3 separate regions of the Homo sapiens genome follow, and regions 2 and 3 are each linked to region 1. The links are contacts of gene promoters, found by promoter capture Hi-C in blood cells and fetal thymus (Javierre and others, 2016). All regions are on one chromosome and are shown on one strand. The core of a region is centred on a gene start or on the middle of the fragment in contact, and the rest is flanking DNA. Distances in the headings are between cores, read along the strand shown. Region 1 holds the start of IVL (involucrin). Region 2 has its middle 5.5 kb from the start of LINC01527. Region 3 has its middle 6.5 kb from the start of LCE7A.

The links. The method cuts DNA at HindIII sites, captures the fragments that hold promoters and counts their contacts. A CHiCAGO score of 5 or more calls a contact.
Region 2: a contact is called between a fragment that was not itself captured here and the fragment with the promoter of IVL in region 1, in 7 of 17 cell types (naive CD8 T cells, naive CD4 T cells, total CD8 T cells and 4 more). The highest score is 7.6, in naive CD8 T cells.
Region 3: a contact is called between a fragment that was not itself captured here and the fragment with the promoter of IVL in region 1, in 2 of 17 cell types (naive CD8 T cells and naive CD4 T cells). The highest score is 6.4, in naive CD8 T cells.

The regions. Positions count from the first base shown.
Region 1 is chr1:152,907,196-152,909,895 of GRCh38, reverse strand. IVL (involucrin) reads right to left here and starts at 1,350. Exons shown (of 2, transcript NM_005547.4): 1 at 1,307-1,350; 2 at 1-117. The coding sequence starts at 98. RefSeq lists silencers at 110-1,310, 1,683-1,735, promoters at 1,356-1,590, 1,310-2,249, 110-2,700, enhancers at 1,470-1,749, 2,668-2,700, 2,583-2,700 and a cis regulatory region at 1,504-2,000. The HindIII fragment of the contact is 6,184 bases long and covers 1-2,700 here.
Region 2 is chr1:152,953,287-152,956,106 of GRCh38, reverse strand. No RefSeq gene overlaps it. Among named protein-coding and RNA genes, the nearest start is that of LINC01527, 5.5 kb to the right of the region's middle. The HindIII fragment of the contact is 152 bases long and covers 1,411-1,562 here.
Region 3 is chr1:152,852,189-152,854,888 of GRCh38, reverse strand. No RefSeq gene overlaps it. Among named protein-coding and RNA genes, the nearest start is that of LCE7A, 6.5 kb to the left of the region's middle. The HindIII fragment of the contact is 6,660 bases long and covers 1-2,700 here.

The sequences.
Region 1 (2,700 bases), core at 101-2,600:
TGCTCCTGATGGGTATTGACTGGAGGAGGAACAGTCTTGAGGAGCTCCTGACTGAGGGCAGGGGAGAGGGTCACTGGCAGTGTGTGTTGCTGGGACATCTTAGAAGCTACTGTCAACCTGAAAGACAGAAGAGGTCTGATGCACAGGCTGAAGGCAAAGGAAATAGATGAAACCTTGGGAATCTGCAGAAGTATCTGGTTTTTTAGCATCCCCTCTTCCCTTGGGCAGGGTACTGTTCTACCACCTCTGGACTATCATTTCCCAAAAGCAGCAGAGAGAGAAGGGTGGAAATGTGGAGGGGCAGAGAAAGGTCCTCCTAGGAGCCTCCTTGTTCCCAGGTGAGAGCCAACAAGGAGATCTGTCTGCAGGGCTGTTCTGCAAGGGTGGGTCAGGTGCCAGCTCACTGTCTGCTCTTGTCTAGTCCTTGTGTCCACCCTCATCGCTTCACTGACCAAGGAGCAGAGATGCGTTCTGGGATTATGTCACAGTGAGGAGTAAGGCCTTAGGGAATGAAATGTCTCTTGGAGAACACCAAGTCCTAGAAAACCAATAGGCCGTGCCAGAGAGGACCTAAGAGGTCATGGTGTGACCTCCAGACTGGAGCCACAGGACATGCTCTAGGCCTGAATCTCCCATTGGAATGCTGTGTGTTTCTGGGCATGTCACTTAGTCTCCTGGGATTTGGTTTTCCCCCCTGTAAAGCCAGCAGGTTGGCCTATTCAACCCCAGGGCTGCTTTCTCTCCTGACCTTCTGAGGTTTAGCTGCAGTCCTTGTGTCTGGGGTGGGGCTGCGGGAGCTGGAAGGTTGCTGAGAGTTGGAGGTTGTTCTTCCAAGTCTTATACTTCTAAGTTGAGTTTTCCTGTCCCAGCTCTGCCTAGGTTTCTCCAAATAGAAAGGTTTCCCCATTCTGCCATCCCTCTGTGCAGCATAGCCAAAAGGTAGAAGCTCTTCCCTGAACCTCTCCCTCCATAAAGAAGGCAAAATGATGGTCTGTCAAAACCCAAGAGGTTTAGGAAAGAAGTTGAATGCTATTCCCCTCCTCCCTTCCATAATTCTCTCTCACACACAAATCCAAAAATATGGTCACAAGAAAAGATGGGACATAGGATGATTACTCTCTGTTCTGCACTTCTGTGCCAAGGCACTTTTCTCTCAGTACTCTGACTCGAGTCCCCCTAGAATGAAAGTCCAGCTGAATCCAGCCCCAGAGTAATGCCCACCCCCACCCAGGCTGCCCACCCCCACCACATCGTATGCTGTTGGAGGTCCCGAGTCCCAACCCTGGTTCTACCATCCGACACTTACCAGACTCACAGTAAGGCTGAGGCAGAGGCTTTGGTGGAGTGCTGAGCTGAGCAGGAGTCAGGGCACTCTTTATATCATTCTGCAGCCTGGCCTCCCTCCAGGTTGAAGGTGATGGACAGGTTTCACCACTCTAGTTGGTCAACTTCCTCTAACCCCTTCCTGACTCACCACAGGCATCTTAAGCAGCAAACCCTTTAGGGCCCCATTTCCCAGGGACACACAGCTCCTGCCTGGCCAGAGGATTCTGGTAGCTCAACTATTCCTGTGATGCTTTTCTGACCTAGGCACAGGGAGCTGAGTGAGGCATCCTACTGTTTTGTGACCTTAGTCAAACTTCTGCTCTGAATCTCAATTTTTCCACTTTCAAAATGAGTTTGTTCTCATTATTAGGCCAAAAGATTCACTTTCAAGGGCATGAAATGGAAAGTTATGTGTCTTTCGGGGATGTCCAGGCTGGGTTATATGTTTGAAGATAGAGTCACTTCCCATGAAGGGGTGGTATTTCTGGGGTGTTCTCTTGGGCCACAAGCCCTTCCTCTCTCAGAATATATTTTTTAACTCCATCCTATGTGGAAATAAACTCTGTCTTTGGTGGAGGGAGTTTGACTTTAGGCCAAGTAGAGTCAAGTAGAAGGCTTCTAGGAGTCCTCTGCTGCTGCCACTTGCTGCCCAGCCTCTATGCCCGAGGCTGCAGTTAGAGAAGTTCTCAGGAATGCCATGCTCATAAGAACTCCAAAGCACGGCCCACTCTAGGCAAGGAAACAAGATTGAATCTACACAATATAAAAATAAGTATTGCTTTTTATAATGACAAACCAAACTACTTTCTTAAGTACTTTTTTAAATGCATGAAGGTATAAAGATCAGAATCAAATCATCCATTTCCTGTTGTAAATCATACTCTAGAAATAGCTTAAGAAATCTTTCAGAGTGGGGATTTGAGCACATCTCTCCCCCGTGCCAACAGTGCACCAGCACACTTGAAATAACATTCAAACTCACTGCCGTGGTTTAAAAGACCCTGGGTACCTGGCTTCTGCCTTCTTCTGGGGCCCCAATTCATGTCAATCTCTCCCTGAGAGGTATATTCTTACCTCACTGAGGGCCTTCGGTTCCTGAGATGAGCCCAGAGCTCTCCACCTGGGGGCTTGGCACCTGCTCTCCTTCTGCCCACCGGCCCCTCCCCAGGTCTCTGGTTCTTTTATGCCTTTCAGCTTCAGTGTCAATGTTGGGGTCTGTCAGAGATCCTTCTCTGTGTACCATATCTAAAGGATTGGTACTTAATTTCACTTATAACAATCTAGAGTAATTTATTTGCATTTGTTCACTTGCTTATTGTCTATCTTTCCCACTGGAAAATAAGCTAAGAGCAGCGTATACCTGGTATGTTTTCC
Region 2 (2,820 bases), core at 237-2,736, 46 kb before region 1:
CCCAGCCATCCCGTTACTGGGTATATACCCAAATGACTATAAATCATGCTGCTATAAAGACACATGCACACGTATGTTTATTGCGGCATTATTCACAATAGCAAAGACTTGAAACCAACCCAAATGTCCAACAATGATAGACTGGATTAAGAAAATGTGGCACATATACAACATGGAATACTATGCAGCCATAAAAAATGATGAGTTCATGTCCTTTGTAGGGACATGGATGAAATTGGAAATCATCATTCTCAGTAAACTATCGCAAGAACAAAAAACCAAACACCGCATATTCTCACTCATAGGTGGGAATTGAACAATGAGATCACATGGACACAGGAAGGGGAATATCACACTCTGGGGACTGTGGTGGGGTGGGGGGAGGGGGGAGGGATAGCATTGGGAGATATACCTAATGCTAGATGACGAGTTAGTGGGTGCAGCGCACCAGCACGGCACATGTATACATATGTAACTAGCCTGCACAATGTGCACATGTACCCTAAAACTTAAAGTATAATAAAAAAAAAGGGTGGGCCTATATGAAAGACAGATCTATATTTGTTTGTTATTTTTAACAAATTTTTATTTTGGAATAATTTTAGGTTTACAGAAAAATTGCAAAATAGTACAAAGCGGTTTTATATATCCTTCCAGTTTCTCTAATGTTGACTTTTTTCTTCTTTTTAAATTTTTAAAGGAATTTTATTTAATTTATTTTTAATTGACAAATGTGGTATATCTTTATTGTGTACAACAGAATGTTTTGAAATATGCATAAATTGTGGAATGGCTAAATTGAGCTAATTAATATATGTGTACCTTCACATACGATTTTTTTTTTTGTGGGGAGAACACACAATCTACTCTTAGTGATTTTCAAGTGTATAATACATTATTAACTGTAGTCATCACTTGTAGGATAGATCTCTTGAACTTATTCCTCCTATCAAACTGAAATTTTATATTGCTTTGACCAATATCTCCCCAGTCCTTCCCCAATGCCCAGCCTCTGGTAACCACCCTTCTACTTTCTGCTTCCATGAGTTTGACTTTCTAGATCCCACACATAAGTAGATCATGTGGTATTTGTCTTTCTGTGCCAAGAATGATCTATATTTGACTCTCAGCTCTTTCAGCTGGCAAAGTTTATAACCTCTTTGGTTCTTGCTTTCCTCATTTGCAAAATTAAATTTTTTACTTATATGGTAGTAATGTATATTATATAAGATAAGTATTAAGATCCCAGTATAGTGTCTTGCTTATAGTAGTAAATTGCTGCTTAAACACACATACACACACACACACACACCTGGCCCCGGAAGGTGGATGTGTTGGTTCCCTGGAGGGAGGAAAGTTAGTCCTAAGCCCGAGTGCTCTTCAAATACAGATGCATGTTTTAGCTAAGCTTTCTCTACGCCTCCATGCAGAAGCATCTGGTGGCCTTCAACCCCAGACTTACCTCTTTTAGGGTTTTCCATGATGATGAATCATTAGGCGAAGAGATTAAACACAAAGATTAGCGTGAGTCACCTCATACAGAGTCAGAACTGAAAGAAGCTTAGAAATAGTTCAGGAAGTCCAACATTGTCATGTACAGGTGAGGACACTGGGAAAAGGGAATGACTTGTCCTGGGTCCCGCAGAAGAACAGCAGAATAACTAAGACAATACTCAGCTCTCATATACTCTGTCCAGTGCTCCTAATTCAGAGCTCCAGTGTCTCCTAAGTCCACCGAAGATGAGCATTCATGTCACACACATCATCGGCCCTTGGTGGCAGAGGAGACTTGAGCCAAAGGGCTGCCTGGAGAGCCCAGGACAGGGAAAATGGTTCCCTTTTTATTTTATTTAAGAGTGAGATGGAAGCTGCATAGTCTAATTCCTGAGAGTTGACATAAAAATTCCAGAAGACAGAGGACCAAATATCAAGGGTCAGGAGTCTGGGGTAAAACAATGACTGTTCTCTGCGTATGAACAAGACCCCCAGACAACAATAACACACTTAAACATGGCATGCCGAACTGATAGCCCCAAAGTGACTGGGAGGAGTTTCAGCATAGGTGGGTATAAGCCACGCCCAGGGCGTCTTCAGTGCCAGGCATCTGTGATTCTCCCAGGAATGTCAGATTGCCAGGGCACACGTACAAACCTGCAGGAGATGGTGGAGCACACTGAAGCTGGCCGCACCCACAGGCAGGGCTTCCTTCAAAGGATGACTGACTGCCGAGTGCTGAAGCTTCATTGCAGAAATCCATTACCAGCTAGGGTCCCCCTGCTCCCCACAACCTGGGCATACACAGCAGGATGTGCATCTAGCAGTGGGGTTCCCTTTCCCTGGGGCTTGTGGAGGAGGGCATGAGGGAAAGATAGAACACCACTGCTGTCAGAAACTCTGAGCTTCAAATTTAGGACTTGAAGTTCAAGTTATTCTCATTTTTTAGCTTAGAAAGGTTAAGTTGGCCAAGATTAATACAAAAGTAAGGAAGAGGAGATTTGAGCCCAGGTCTGTCACACTCCAAGATGTGTAGGTACTCTCTTTCCTGCACCCTACCATGCCATCTTCCATGGAATTTCTTTGTTTGGAGCAGAATAAAGAGAATATGTATACAAGCACTTCTCTGATGAAGGCATACCCCCTTCGAAGCCCTCAGCATCACACTCTTCATCCTGAGACCTCTGTTCTGTGGAAATTTCACTCAAGCCAGATGGTGAGACATCCTTGCTGGAATGTGGCAGAGGCCTGGAGAAAGGGGAGAGGACAAGTCACTAGGTCACAGGAGTAGAGCTGGATTTGATGTTCTGGGGCCATGCTCAACAG
Region 3 (2,700 bases), core at 141-2,640, 55 kb after region 1:
TCTCCTATGTAACACATGGAACGATGCCCTCTTTGGATCCTAGGCCCTGCCCTGGCTTCTTGGTTGACTTTGGTGAATGGAGCAATAGCTAAAACACCTTATCAGGAGCCTGTATTTACACATGTCACCATCAAGTGATGCCTGTTAATCCTAAAATAGGAAGGGATGAAGAGTGATCATCTTGCCTATCATTTTCCTCCAGACCCAAGAATATATTTTTAAATAAGAATATATTTCTAAAATCCCAAGAATATGTTTCTGAATCTTCTAAGAAAGGAGACTCCACTGCCTACAATGACAGAGCTTTCTGACTCCTGTGAAACTTCATGTCTTTTTGCTGATGTTAAAGATGAATTCTACCAACTAAGGTGAGCAGAACAGATCTTTGGCTCCACCGCCCTCCTATTCTTGGAAACAGTTGTTCTGATGATATCTCTGGCTCATCACAACTCCATGCCTTTGATCTCTCCATCATTTTCTCCACTGTGCCTAAAGGAGATAACCCAGCTGGACTGTATCTCTCATCCTGCAATTAACACATCTTAAGAGAAAGGTAGGGAAGATGAATCCCTCTTATCACCACCCTTCACCTCAAAGCCTGTTTTCAGTAGTGTTTTTACCTAGGAAAGCCACTACAAAACTCTTAAGGGCATGGGGGGACACATTAAGAAGCATTAGGCAAGTTGCTCAATCTTTCTGGAGCCCACACCTTCACCTGTGACACCAAGACCCCGTGTTCCATCACTCTGTGAGCCTGTAGTTCTAAACCATTCATTCTTTTAGTGATGGTGGTCACACAAGGGAAGCCCCTCACATCCCTCCATGCATTGCATTTCACATGCTTTGTAATACGTTGTATTACATTTCACATGCTTTGTAATGCATTGTATTGCATTTCACATGCTTTATTTTCTCTTCTTAACAACCTTGAGAGTTTGTTATTATTGCATCTAGAAAAACTGAATACTGGACAGTTAAAAGTAAGTGCATATCACACAGTCTGTAAGGGTGCAGAGCAATAAGGCAAGCCCGGCAAAGAACTGCGCAAAGCAAGGAAGCTGTCCTGGACTCTCAGTGCTGTTGTAGATCAAGAATTGCAAACCTGGTTGGGAACATGAGCCATCTTGGAAGTACTTTTAAAATGCAGATCCCGGCCAGGTGTGGTGTCTCACGCCTGTAATCCAAACACTTTGGTTGGCCAAGGCAGGGAAATCACAAGGTCAGGAGATTGAAACTATCCTGGCCAACATGGAGAAACCCCATCACTACTAAAAATACAAAAATTAGCTGGGTGTGGTGGTACGCGCCTGTAATCCCAGCTACTCGGGAGGCTGAGGCAGGAGAATGGCTTGAACCCAGGAGGTGGAGATTGAAGTGAGCCGAGATAGTGCCACTGCACTCCAGCCGCCTGGTGACAAAGCGAGATTCTGTCAAAATAATAATAATAATAATAATAAAATAAATGAATAAAAAATAAAAGAAGCAGACACCTGGTCTCTAACTAAGACCTACTGAATCATAATCTCCAAGGAGTGGGTCTTTATGATTTACATTGGTTAACTATTTCCCAGGTTATTCTACCTAGTTTGGTAGCCACTGTCCTGGCATGTTCTGGTAGAACCGTAGAACTATAGCCAGCCCATGAAACATTCTGGTAACAACATTTTCACAGTCCTACCACCTTCCTCTGAGCTCCTCTAGGGATCTTCCTAGGAAATTGAAAGATGCAGGAAGCATAGTAAACTCACAAACTTATTTAGCCTTGCAGAGGCCTTAGAAAGAATGTAGTGTGGTTTTCCACCAGGAGCTTGTATCTCCTCACCCACATGCCTAGTGGTGAGCTTCCTGGCCTAAATGAAAATGCTTTTAGTTGGAGAACTCATTACCTCACAAGGCAGTCCATTTCTTTCCACATTGTTATCTTTGTTAGAAATTTTTCTCCAATAAAATAGGAACACTTTTACACAGTTGGTGAGACTGTAAACTAGTTCAACCATTGTGGAAGACCGTGTGGCAATTCCTCAAGGATCTAGAACTAGAAATACCATTTGACCCAGCCATCCCATTACTGGGTATATACCCAAAGGATTATAAGTCATGCTGCTGTAAAGACACATGCACACGTATGTTTATTGCGGCACTATTCACAATAGCAAGGACTTGGAACCAACCCAAATGTCCATCAATAATAGACTGGATTAAGAAAATGTGGTACATATACACCATGGAAAACTATGCAGCCATAAAAAAGGATGAGTCCATGTCCTTTGTGGGGACATGGATGAAGCTGGAAACCATCATTCTGAGCAAACTATCACAAGAACAGAAAACCAAACACCGCATGTTCTCACTCATAGGTGGGAGTTGAACTATGAGAACACTTGGACACAGGGTGGGGAACACCACACACTGGGGCCTGTCATGGGGTTGGGGGAGTGGGGAGGGATAGCATTAGGAGGTATACCTAATGTAAATGACGAGTTAATGGGTGCAGCACACCAACATGGCACATGTATACATATGTAACAAACCTGCACGTTGTACACATGTACCCTAGAACTTAAAGTATAATAAAAAAAAGAAATTTTTCTCCAAAAAATGCATAAGATCAGATCATAAAGAGGTAATCACTATAATACCTAAATAAAGCAGTTCTTTACATATAGCTGGTACTTACTAGGGGTTCATTGAATGATTGAG